Regions from separate parts of the Homo sapiens genome. Here all the other regions are linked to region 4. The links are contacts of gene promoters, found by promoter capture Hi-C in blood cells and fetal thymus (Javierre and others, 2016). All regions are on one chromosome and are shown on one strand. The core of a region is centred on a gene start or on the middle of the fragment in contact, and the rest is flanking DNA. Distances in the headings are between cores, read along the strand shown.

Region 1 (2,700 bases), core at 57-2,556, 590 kb before region 4:
CACTGCTGAAAGAAATCAAGACGACACAAACAAATGGAAATACATTTTATGCTCATGAGTAGGAAGAATCGATATTGTTAAAATGGCCATACTTCCCAAAGCTATCTACAAATTCAATGCCATTCCTAAGCAGAAAGAACAAAGCTGGAAGCATCAAACTACCCAACTCCAAACTATACTACAAGACTACAACAACCAAAACAGCATGGTACTGGCACAAAAACAGACACAATGGAACAGGTTAGAGAACCCAAAAACATAGCCACATACCTACAACCATCTGATCTTTGACAAAGCTGACAATAATAAGCAATGAGGAAAGGATTCTCCATTCAATAAATGCTGCTGGGATAACCAGCTAGCCATATGCAGAAGGTTGAAACTGGAACATTTCCTTGCATTAAATACAAAAATCAACCAAAGATGGATTAAAGACTTAAAAGTAAGACCTAAGATCATAAAAAACCTAGAAGAAAACCTAGGGAATGCTATTCTGGATGTAGGCCTTGTCAAAGATTTCATAACAAAGACACCTAAAGCAATTGCAACAAAAACAAAAATTGACAAGTGGGGCCTAATTAAACTAAAGAGCTTCAGCACACCCAAAGAAATGTCCACAAAATAAACAGAAAACCTACAGAATGGGAGAAAATATTTGCAAATTATGCACCCTACAAAGGCCTAATAACCAGAATCTACAAGGAACTTAAACAAGTCAATAAGTACAAAACAACCCCATTAGAAATGGGCAAAGGACATGAACAGACACATCTCAAAAGAATACATACATGCAGCCAACAAGCATATGAAAAAATGCTCAACATCATTAATTATTAGAGAAATGCAAATCAAAACCATAATAAGATATCATCTCACAGCAGTCAAAATGGCTATTATTAAAAAGTCAAAAAAAAACAGATGTTGGCAAGGTTGCGAAGAACAGGGAATGCTTATACACTGCTATATGCTGCTGGTGAGAATGTAAATTAGTTTAGCCACTGTAGAAAGCAGTGTGGCAATTTCTTAAAAAACTTAAAACAGAATTACCAGTCAACCCAGCAATCCCATTATTGTGTATATACCCAAAGGAATATAAATCATTCTACCGTAAAGACACATGTATGCATACATTCATTGCAGCACTACTCACAATAGCAAAGACATGGAATCAACCTAAATGCCCATCAACAGTGGAAAGGATAAAGAAAATGTGGTACATATACACCATGGAATATTACATGGCCATAAGAAAGAAATGTCTTTTGCAGCAACATGGATGCAGCTGGAGACCATTATCATAAGTGAATTAACACAGGAACAGAAAACCAAATACCGCATGTTCTCACTTATAAGTGGGAGCTAAACATTGGGTATATATGGAAACAAAGAGGGGAATAATAGACATTGGGGCCTACTACTTAAGGGTGAAGGATGGGAGGAGGGTAAGGGTCAAAAAACTATCTATTGGGTACTATGCTACTACCTGCATGATGAAATTCTTTGTACACCAAACCCCAGCAACATGTAATATACCCACATTAACAGACCTTCCCAAGTACCCCCGAACCTGAAATAAAAGTTGAAAATATATATAATTGTTTTATAGGTTTTATAAATAACACATGAATTTGATATATCAGGGACCAGCATACTTGTTTTTTACATTAAATCTTTACACGAATGCAAATAAAAATGTGTAACTGTGACCTACCTTTATCAAAAACACCTGGCAATCACTGATATAGTCATATTCTAGTCCATCAAAAGAATAATAATGTCGGTCCCCGTATATTGTGCACACTGCTGGGCATGGATAATATGTGCAATTGAACATTCCTCGTCGACAAACGCTATTAAAAAATAACAAAAGTTACCTTTCTAAAGAAACGACTCTAACTAGTGATTTCAAGTGACAGCAACATTGGAATGTCTGTATTCAAGAGAATTCATGAGTCAATATCCCTTACGAATATTGCCAGTTCATTCTGATACCACCTATTACATTGACAAATTAGGCATACGTTTTTCACTTCCTTTAAATAAATTATCAGACACCAAAACCGAGCCTAGGAATTGTGCATAGGTCACACAGAAAGTAGATGATAGAATGAAAAACTGAACACAGGTCTGCTGGTAGCTGAAAAAGCACAATGCCATCTCCCATATTTGAGTAAATTTAAATGCATTAGACATGACATTGCTCATGAGTTTAGAATCTTTGTCCATATTTTAGGGAAATTATATTTCAAATTTTATTTTATGGTATTCTTTTGACTTACCTTGAAACAGAAAACCTTCCATTAAATACGGTCTTTTCTTTGTAACATTTAGCACTTTCTTATAAACATGAGATATTTTTTCCTATTAAAATTTTAGATTGTTGTGTTTCACAGTTTTCTTCTGGGCTGAACAAATATGCATAAAAATAATGATATAGTCCCCTGCAGATAGTAACTGTCCACCAACTCCTGCAGGCCTTTAAATTATTTGCTGAGGCTTGATTTACTTTTTGCTGATGTCAGTCTCATTAAATAAATAAAAGATGATTGAAATTTACACAATTACTTAGGAAAATATTTGTGAAATAAATGGATCTCCTTACCAGGTGTAACACGGTGTAGCAATCACTTCTCCTGAGAGATACTCCCAATCTTTCCAAATACATGGGCAGCTTTCAGGAACATAACACTTTCCTCTGTG
Region 2 (2,700 bases), core at 173-2,672, 510 kb before region 4:
AGCAGCAATGTAAAGTCATGTGAAAATTATGTGTTTCTGATACAAACTTTGGTATTCGTATGTACTTAATTAAAATGTAGTAACTCTGAACTTTTCATCTCAAGTTTCATATAGTATCTTTAAAGTTTTTATTCAAAAGCATCACAGTCATTTTCACTGAATAAAGTTGAAAAGTTCAAGCCTGTATTATTTGATGTTTTTATGACTATTTTTCTATTTTGAACTATATGTATTTAAAAACTGTTAAGTGGTTTTGTCTGGTAGAATTTGACCAGGCACAGTGGCTCACGCCTGTAGTCCCAGCACTTTGGGAGGGAGCACTTCAGCTCAGAAGTTTAAGATTAGCCTGGACAACATGATGAAACTCTGCCTCTACAAAAAAAAAAAAAAATACAAAACAATTAGCTGGGCATGGTAGCATGCTCCTGTAGTCCCAGCTACTATGGAGGCTGAGGTGGAAGGATCGTTTGAGCCCAGGAGGTCAAGGTTGCCGTGAACTGAGGTCACACCACTGCACTCCAGCCTGGCAACAGAGCAAGACCCTGTCTCAAAAAATAAAGAAAAAAATAGTAGAATTTGTAAGAGGAAGCCTCAGGGTTGTTACTATTTTATAGATAGAGCAAGCTTTGGTGTATGTCTTCTCTCTGCTCCTCTTCCATCCAGGCTCATAGTAGGAAAAATGTTAGAAAAGGAGAATGAACAATGGCAAAGAGAACAATAACAAAAATCCCAAGTCCTTTTTCAACTAACTACATTATGAACTCGATATATGAAATGGTAGCCTGCATGAAAATAAGCAAAACAGACTTCCTTAAATAGCTGCAATAGAAGAGAGTTTAGATGAAAGATTAGACTCAGAGCCACAAAACACAGAATTTATGACTGTTGCTACATGTAATTATTACTGTCAAAATGTAATTGACAGCTTTTATATTTCATTCCACCCTGACAAAAGAACTTTGGCAAAAAGTAAGCCAGCCACCAGCTTGTGAAGTGATATTAAGTTCATAAGAAGTCTGAGACAACTACATAATACAAGCAATAAACAGTTCCCTTTCTGCTACAAAAGCACTGCACATTTTCCCACATGGAATATGATCTTTAGAAAGTGACACCTGACAGCCTATTGGCCTCAACCCAACACATTAAAACAACTGGCAAGAATGGGAAAATTTTTATTGAGGAGTATATATGTCAATGATAATAATGGGATATTTGTAATGAAGCTCATCATTTTTGAGGAAAGTTAATTTCTTTGGTGATTTACATAACACTCATTTTTCATCAATTGACAACAAATTTAAAGTAGATAACATTTGACTCCCGTAATATCACATTCTGCTAGTGAAATGCAAATACTCTTTACTTGTGTTACTAAACCTAACACATTTCAAGTTCATAGATTTTATCCAGAATTTATGTTATCATTTGAGCCAGCAAATAGAATCTTGTATCTTTAAAATGATGTTTGCCACTCTGAATGTAACTGTCTTATTACAAGATAGTTTGTAGTATTCTATTTGTGCTTTCTGGATGTGTGTTGCTTGGCAGTTTCTGGGATGTTTCATATAATTTTAGAAGTAGCATCTATCTTACCTTTTCTGAGTAAGGATATGATTATATTTCATAAGCAGTATCTGTGTTGGTCATGATTTCAATTTAACACTCATCCCCAGAAGTTAATGTGTTATGTTTTATAGCGACATTTGTTTTTCAACTTGCTGTGATGCCGTTGATTTGTAATATCTAATTGATACCTTGAAAGAAGTAATGTTTCTTCAACTAAAGTTTTCTCTTGTCAACATTTTAGCATCGAGTTCAGTTTCTGCAGCTATCTTCATTCTCTGAACTACTACAACACTTTGCACTTGTACCATATAGTGAAAATATTAATGTAAGGCACTATTTAATACCATAAAGTTGGTTTCTCATGCTTTGAATTCCTTTATATCTTCAATAATTTTTATGTACTTACTTTAGAGTTGTTGAGAAAGAATGTTATTTCAATTTTTTAGTGGCAGTAGGGGTGGTTCTAATCTTGTTGTTTGTTGTTCGTTTCTCTCACTTAGGATAGATGACTTCATGGATTTTGTAATTTTGAATTTGGGGTCCATGTCTGGCAGGGCATTTTATATGGGAATCCTTTACCACCAAAGTTGAGTATGTTCCCCTCCAAAAAAGATTTTGTACCAACTTCTGCCAAGTGCTCCAGGAAGCTTCATGTTAATTTCTCAGCTTAAGGGTTCACAGACCACAGAATATAAATTCAAATCCCAAACATAAAGTAAAGTAAACCAAGTCCAGTTTCTGTTTTGTTTCTGGTCTCTGGTAATATTCCTTACATTCTAGTGAACTTATTCAACCATTTACATGGTTGACTATTTTATTAAATTCCGTACTTCCAAGTACTTTATACTTGGAAGATTTTTATATCATGTAATCTGCCATATTATTAAAACCAAACCACCAAGCATCAAAAATTACACGCTTTTATTTTCTAGGTTACTTTATATATTTTCTTTCTTACTTTTTCAACTTAATTACAACTTACTTAGCTTACTTACAAACAAACGTTCTTCAAAATAAATAACTGTAAATTTGTAAAGAAAGCGTGCTATACTTGGATCCAATTATTTAAACTATAAAACAAAACCTGTCAAATCCCAAAATGTCGTGATTGGATGACTTCATACAACACCA
Region 3 (2,700 bases), core at 180-2,679, 530 kb before region 4:
AAGCTGAGAATCAAATCAAGAACTCAACCCCTTTTACAATAGCTGCAAAAAACATTAAAATACTTAAGAATATATTTAATCAAGGAGGTGAAAGACCTCTACAAGGAAAACTACAAAACACTGCTGAAAGAAATCATAGACAACACAAACAAATAGAAACACATCCCATGCTCGTTGATGGGTAGAATCAATATTGTGAAAATGACCACACTGCCAAAAGCAATCTACAAATTCAATGCAATTCCCATGAAAATACCACCATCATTCTTCACAGAACTAGAAAAAACAATCATAAAATTCATATGGAACCAAAAAAGCCACATAGCCAAAGCAAGACTAAGCAAAAAGAACAAAGTTTGAGGCATTACATTACCCGACTTCAAACTATAGTATAAGGCCATAGTCACCAAAACAGCATGGTACTGGTATTAAAACAGTCATATAGAACAACAGAGAATCCAGAAATAAAGCCAGATGCTTACAGCCAACTAATTTTTGACAAAGTAAACAAAAACATAAAGTGGGGAAAGGACATCCTATTCAACAAATGGTGCTGGGATAATTGGCTAGCCACATGCAGAAGAATGAAACTGGATCCTCATCTCTCACTTTATACAAAAATCAACTCAAGATGGATAAAATACTTAAATCTAGACGTGAAACCATACAAATTCTAGAATATAACATTGGAAAAGCTTTCTAGACATTGGCTTAGGCAAAGCATTCATGACCAAGAACCCAAAAGCAAATACAGCAGAAACAAATATAAACAGACAAGACTTAATTAAACTAAAAAGCTTTTATGCAGCAAAAGAAATAATCAACAGAGTAAACAGACAAGTCACAGAGTGGAAGAAAATCTTTGCAATCTATACATCCAACAATGGACTAATATACAGAATCTACAAGGAACTCAAACAAATTAGCAAGAAAAAAACAAACAATTCCATCAAAAAGTGAGCTAAGGACATGAATAGACAATTCTCAAAAGAAGGTATACAAATGGCCAACAAACATGAAAAAATTATCAACATCACTAATTATCAGAGAAAAACAAATGAAAACCACAATACAATACCACTTTATTCCTGCAAGAATTACCATAATTTAAAAATCAAAAAATAATAGATGTTGGTATGGATGTGGTGAAAAGGGAACACTTTCACACGGTTGTTGGTAATTTAAACTAGTACAACTACTATGAAAAAGAGTATAGAGATTCCTGAAAGAACTAAAAGTAGATCTACCATTTGACCCAGCAATCCTACTCCTAGGTATCTCCCCAGAAGAAAAGAAGTCATTATACAAAAAAAGATACCTGCATACACATGTTTATAGCAGTACAATTCACAATTGCAAAAACATGGAACCAGCCCAAATGCCCATCAATCAATGAGTGGATAAAGAAAATATGATATATATACATATATGCCATATATATATACATATATATACATACACACACACACACCATGGAATACTACTCAGCCATAAAAAGGAACAAAATAATGGCATTTCCAGCAACCTGGGTGGAATTGGAAAGCATTAGCCTAAGTGAAGTAACTTGGGAATAGAAAACCAAACATCATATGTTCTCACTCGTAAGTGGGAACTAAGCTATGAGAATGCAAAGGGATAAGAATTACACAATGGACTTTGGGGACCAAGGGGAAAGGCTGGGGGGTGATGAGGGGTAAAAGACTACACATTGGGTACAATGTACACTGCTCAGGGGATAGTGGACTAAAATCTCAGAAATCAACATGTAACCAAACACCATCTCTTCCCCCAAAAACCTATGAAAAAAAAGAAGTTTCAGGGCCTACTTTTAATATTTGCATCACCTTAGAAAGGAGGAGAATGTAGGCAGCCCCAACGTAAGTAAAAAGGGAAAGCATAACAGAGATTCAAATATGTTTTGACTATGGAGAGTTGTAGCTTTTAAATCCAACAACATAGCAGTTTCCTGGTAGTGATTGAAATACCTAGAAATTCAGAAGATAGTAGGCAAAGAAAGAGGTCCCTGACATCCTTATTCAACTAGAGCCACTCTGAAGCTTATATTTTCGAGAGGTCTCCTAAGAATTCATTTGAATCAAGAATTCTGCAACTAAGAATTAATTCTCTGAGTTCAGTCATATAGTATCAAACTACCTAGCAATTAGCTGTCAGTCTTCACATCCGATAGCCTGTGCTTATGTAACTCATACACTCCATTTTATAAATGTTAGCCTCTGGTTCATACTGAGGGTGTCATTTCAAAAAACTAAACCAGCTGGACATATCTCACTGGAAGTATCAGGAAGGAAGGAAGTGTGAGTAATATGGTTCGTAACTGAACCCAGACCCTCTTCAAAATAAGTATTCATTCTATTATTAGTATATATTTTGCATCATTTTCCCAGTACTTTAAAAATACATACTTTTCCAGAGATAATATTTTTAAGTTAATCATGTCCTACAATCACCTACCCATACAGTGTACCGAGGCTCCAAATCACCACAGTCCTTTGCAAAAATGTAAGAACAGTTTCCTGGGAAGTAATAGTAGATGCCATCGAATGTTTCAAAATGATACTGTCCCCAGGTTTTACAAATCCCATCTCTGCCGTTGCCCATGTTTGGGACTGAAAAGAAACAGGATAATATTTTGTAGGCAAAATAAATTACACGTTTCTAGCAATGTTCAGTCAGTCATGG
Region 4 (2,700 bases), core at 79-2,578:
ATTTTTCCAGAGCTCTCGCCATACGTTTCCCACAACAGCCAGACCAAAGACCAAAACTGTCTTTCCCTGAGAAATATAGAGCATGTGAATCACTTTCTTCTGTTCCCAGTTCTGTGGCAGGCAAACACTGATTGCTCACTCATCATGTGCTACCTGGGCAAAACAGGAATATTAAGTAGGAAGAAAGGTTTATGTTAGGTAAGAGCGTGACTTAGGGCTCTCCTACTTTTTTACAAAATGGAGACCTGGCATTTGTAGCCTCCCACAATGATGTGCCCTGACATTACTTGGATATAGAAAGGTCAGTCTTAGGTGCGTCAGTGACAGCCCACCCCGCTCTGATCCAGAAATTTCAGATGACTTGCATCAGAGGATAAGCCTCTGGCATGTTAATAATGAAAAAATAGAGACAATCACTGCCCCAGCTCATCTCAAATTAGCATCAGTGCAGCGTTAGTACTTTGGTAGGGAGCTTTGCTGCTAAATTCATTCTCTGTAAAGAGGAGAGGCAGAGACAGGGTTAAGGGGAAAACTCCAAGACTGGAATCGCCAATACAATAAACTGTCGAACTGAGTTTTTTCTCCCGCAACCCTAAGATACTAGTAAGTCCTTCCTCTTAGCCAACCCTTTTCACCAGGGCACCGCAGTTTTCTTAGAAGGAGGGTGCTGGGTTTGTCTCAGGTCTTTCTATTCTCCTGCCCGCTGCCCTAGTACATCTGAAAAGGGAGCAGCGACTAGGAAAAGAGACACGTGGGTATTTTCCCATCCTGTCTAGTCATTCCCTGAATCATCACAAGTTATCGCACTTTTCCCCTTAGCCAGCAGCGTTCGAGACTTTCTCTCAAATAATACGGTCTTGTACTTAAAAGGAAGAGTGGTGGGAGAAGAGAGAGGCGGAGAAGACAAGCAAGAAGGGCGTGGAGTGCCGTTCCCGCCCCGGAGTCGGAGGCGCCGGGAGGCCGGACGCCGCGAAGCTGCTAGCCCAGGAATGTGCCGTCTAACTCGCAGGCCGCGGGCGGAGCGCGGCGGGCGCGCTGTGGTCTGCGGCGGGAGCGGGGCAGAGGACGGCTGGCGCAGGGCAGGCTGCAGCGGCGGGCCGGACGCGACGCCGCGCACCTGAGCGCCGGGGGCGGGGCGTCAGCGGCCACGACCCTTCCCACCGCGCGCCGCGCCCCTCGCGCGCCGCCTCGGCCTTTTCCGCTCGTGCTTCGGCGCCGCTCGGCTCCCTTCCCGCCCCTGGCTCCCTCCCTCCCTCCCTCCCTCCTTCTTCTCCCTCCCTCCTGTCCTGGGATTGCCTGGAGCTCCGCACCGCGAGTTTGCCGCGGCACTTTCCGCGCGGCGGAAGAGCGCGCGCCAGCTTCGGCACACCTGGGAGCCGGATCCCAGCCCTACGCCTCGTCCCCTACAAGCTCCTCCAAGGTAAGGCGCTCGCTCACACCCGGTCCTTTCCACGCTCGGCGGGACAGCTGGGTCCCCGCCTCCTCTGCGAACCGGCTAGGAGCTCCGCGCCTCGCCTTGGGAGTGGGGTTGTAGCTGACGGGGACCTCGGACCGGCGGTGGCTAGAGCGCGGAGCAGGCGATACGACGAGCCGACAGGTGGCGGGTCTAGCCCTAGTATCTCGACCGCCGCCGGCGCGGACCTTGGTGGGGATGGGGCGGGCGGGCCGACTTGGGGGTGGGGTCAGTCCTCTCTCCTCCCTTCTAGGGGCGGCGATCGTCGGGGTCCGTACTGTAGGTGCGTGGGAGAAACTTTGCAGGGTGGGGACCCGGCGGCTGCTGGCCGGTAGTGACTGGTGGGCGCGCTCGAGGACTCCAAGGGGCGCAGCCCGGGGGCAGACCCTTGGGTCGGGCGGGGATCTTACGCTTCCCTTACCCGCCCCCTTTTGTCTTTCACCTCAGCCCCGCCGGCTGCTGTGGGAGCGGCGGCCGTCCCTCTCCTGGAGGTCGTCTCCTGGCATCCTCGGGGCCGCAGGAAGGAAGAGGAGGCAGCGGCCGGAGCCCTGGTGGGCGGCCTGAGGTGAGAGCCCGACCGGCCCCTTTGGGAATATGGCGACCGGTGGCTACCGGACCAGCAGCGGCCTCGGCGGCAGCACCACAGACTTCCTGGAGGAGTGGAAGGCGAAACGCGAGAAGATGCGCGCCAAGCAGAACCCCCCGGGCCCGGCCCCCCCGGGAGGGGGCAGCAGCGACGCCGCTGGGAAGCCCCCCGCGGGGGCTCTGGGCACCCCGGCGGCCGCCGCTGCCAACGAGCTCAACAACAACCTCCCGGGCGGCGCGCCGGCCGCACCTGCCGTCCCCGGTCCCGGGGGCGTGAACTGCGCGGTCGGCTCCGCCATGCTGACGCGGGCGGCCCCCGGCCCGCGGCGGTCGGAGGACGAGCCCCCAGCCGCCTCTGCCTCGGCTGCACCGCCGCCCCAGCGTGACGAGGAGGAGCCGGACGGCGTCCCAGAGAAGGGCAAGAGCTCGGGCCCCAGTGCCAGGAAAGGCAAGGGGCAGATCGAGAAGAGGAAGCTGCGGGAGAAGCGGCGCTCCACCGGCGTGGTCAACATCCCTGCCGCAGAGGTGAGCCGGGCGGGGGCCGCAGCCGGACCGGGCCGGGGCGGGCAGCTGCCTCCCGGTGTCTTCCTCCTGGGAGCTACCCGGGGCGCAGAGTTTACCTCCCCTGGCTCGTACTTGTCCCTTCACCGAGTTAGGCAGGC

The links. Contacts are between HindIII fragments. The CHiCAGO score rates a contact against its expected background, and 5 or more counts as called.
Region 1: a fragment that was not itself captured here is called in contact with the fragment with the promoter of PAWR in region 4 in 1 of 17 cell types (total CD4 T cells); the score reaches 5.9 in total CD4 T cells.
Region 2: a fragment that was not itself captured here is called in contact with the fragment with the promoter of PAWR in region 4 in 1 of 17 cell types (megakaryocytes); the score reaches 8.9 in megakaryocytes.
Region 3: a contact is called between a fragment that was not itself captured here and the fragment with the promoter of PAWR in region 4, in 1 of 17 cell types (megakaryocytes). The highest score is 6.4, in megakaryocytes.

What each region holds. Positions count from the first base shown.
Region 1 is chr12:80,278,178-80,280,877 of GRCh38, reverse strand. It overlaps OTOGL (otogelin like), which reads right to left. Exons shown (of 59, transcript NM_001378609.3): 25 at 2,603-2,700; 26 at 1,712-1,850. Among named protein-coding and RNA genes, the nearest start is that of PTPRQ, 160 kb to the left of the region's middle. The HindIII fragment of the contact is 3,705 bases long and covers 1-2,700 here.
Region 2 is chr12:80,204,378-80,207,077 of GRCh38, reverse strand. The region is part of intron 1 of OTOGL (otogelin like); the gene reads right to left. Among named protein-coding and RNA genes, the nearest start is that of OTOGL, 110 kb to the right of the region's middle. The HindIII fragment of the contact is 1,592 bases long and covers 627-2,218 here.
Region 3 is chr12:80,222,018-80,224,717 of GRCh38, reverse strand. It overlaps OTOGL (otogelin like), which reads right to left. Exons shown (of 59, transcript NM_001378609.3): 7 at 2,473-2,627. Among named protein-coding and RNA genes, the nearest start is that of OTOGL, 120 kb to the right of the region's middle. The HindIII fragment of the contact is 1,260 bases long and covers 800-2,059 here.
Region 4 is chr12:79,689,592-79,692,291 of GRCh38, reverse strand. PAWR (pro-apoptotic WT1 regulator) reads left to right here and starts at 1,328. Exons shown (of 7, transcript NM_002583.4): 1 at 1,328-1,420; 2 at 1,901-2,563. The coding sequence starts at 2,048. PPP1R12A-AS2 (PPP1R12A antisense RNA 2) reads right to left here and starts at 2,260. Exons shown (of 7, transcript NR_187531.1): 1 at 1,896-2,260. RefSeq lists silencers at 1,031-1,330, 2,101-2,620. The HindIII fragment of the contact is 6,027 bases long and covers 1-2,700 here.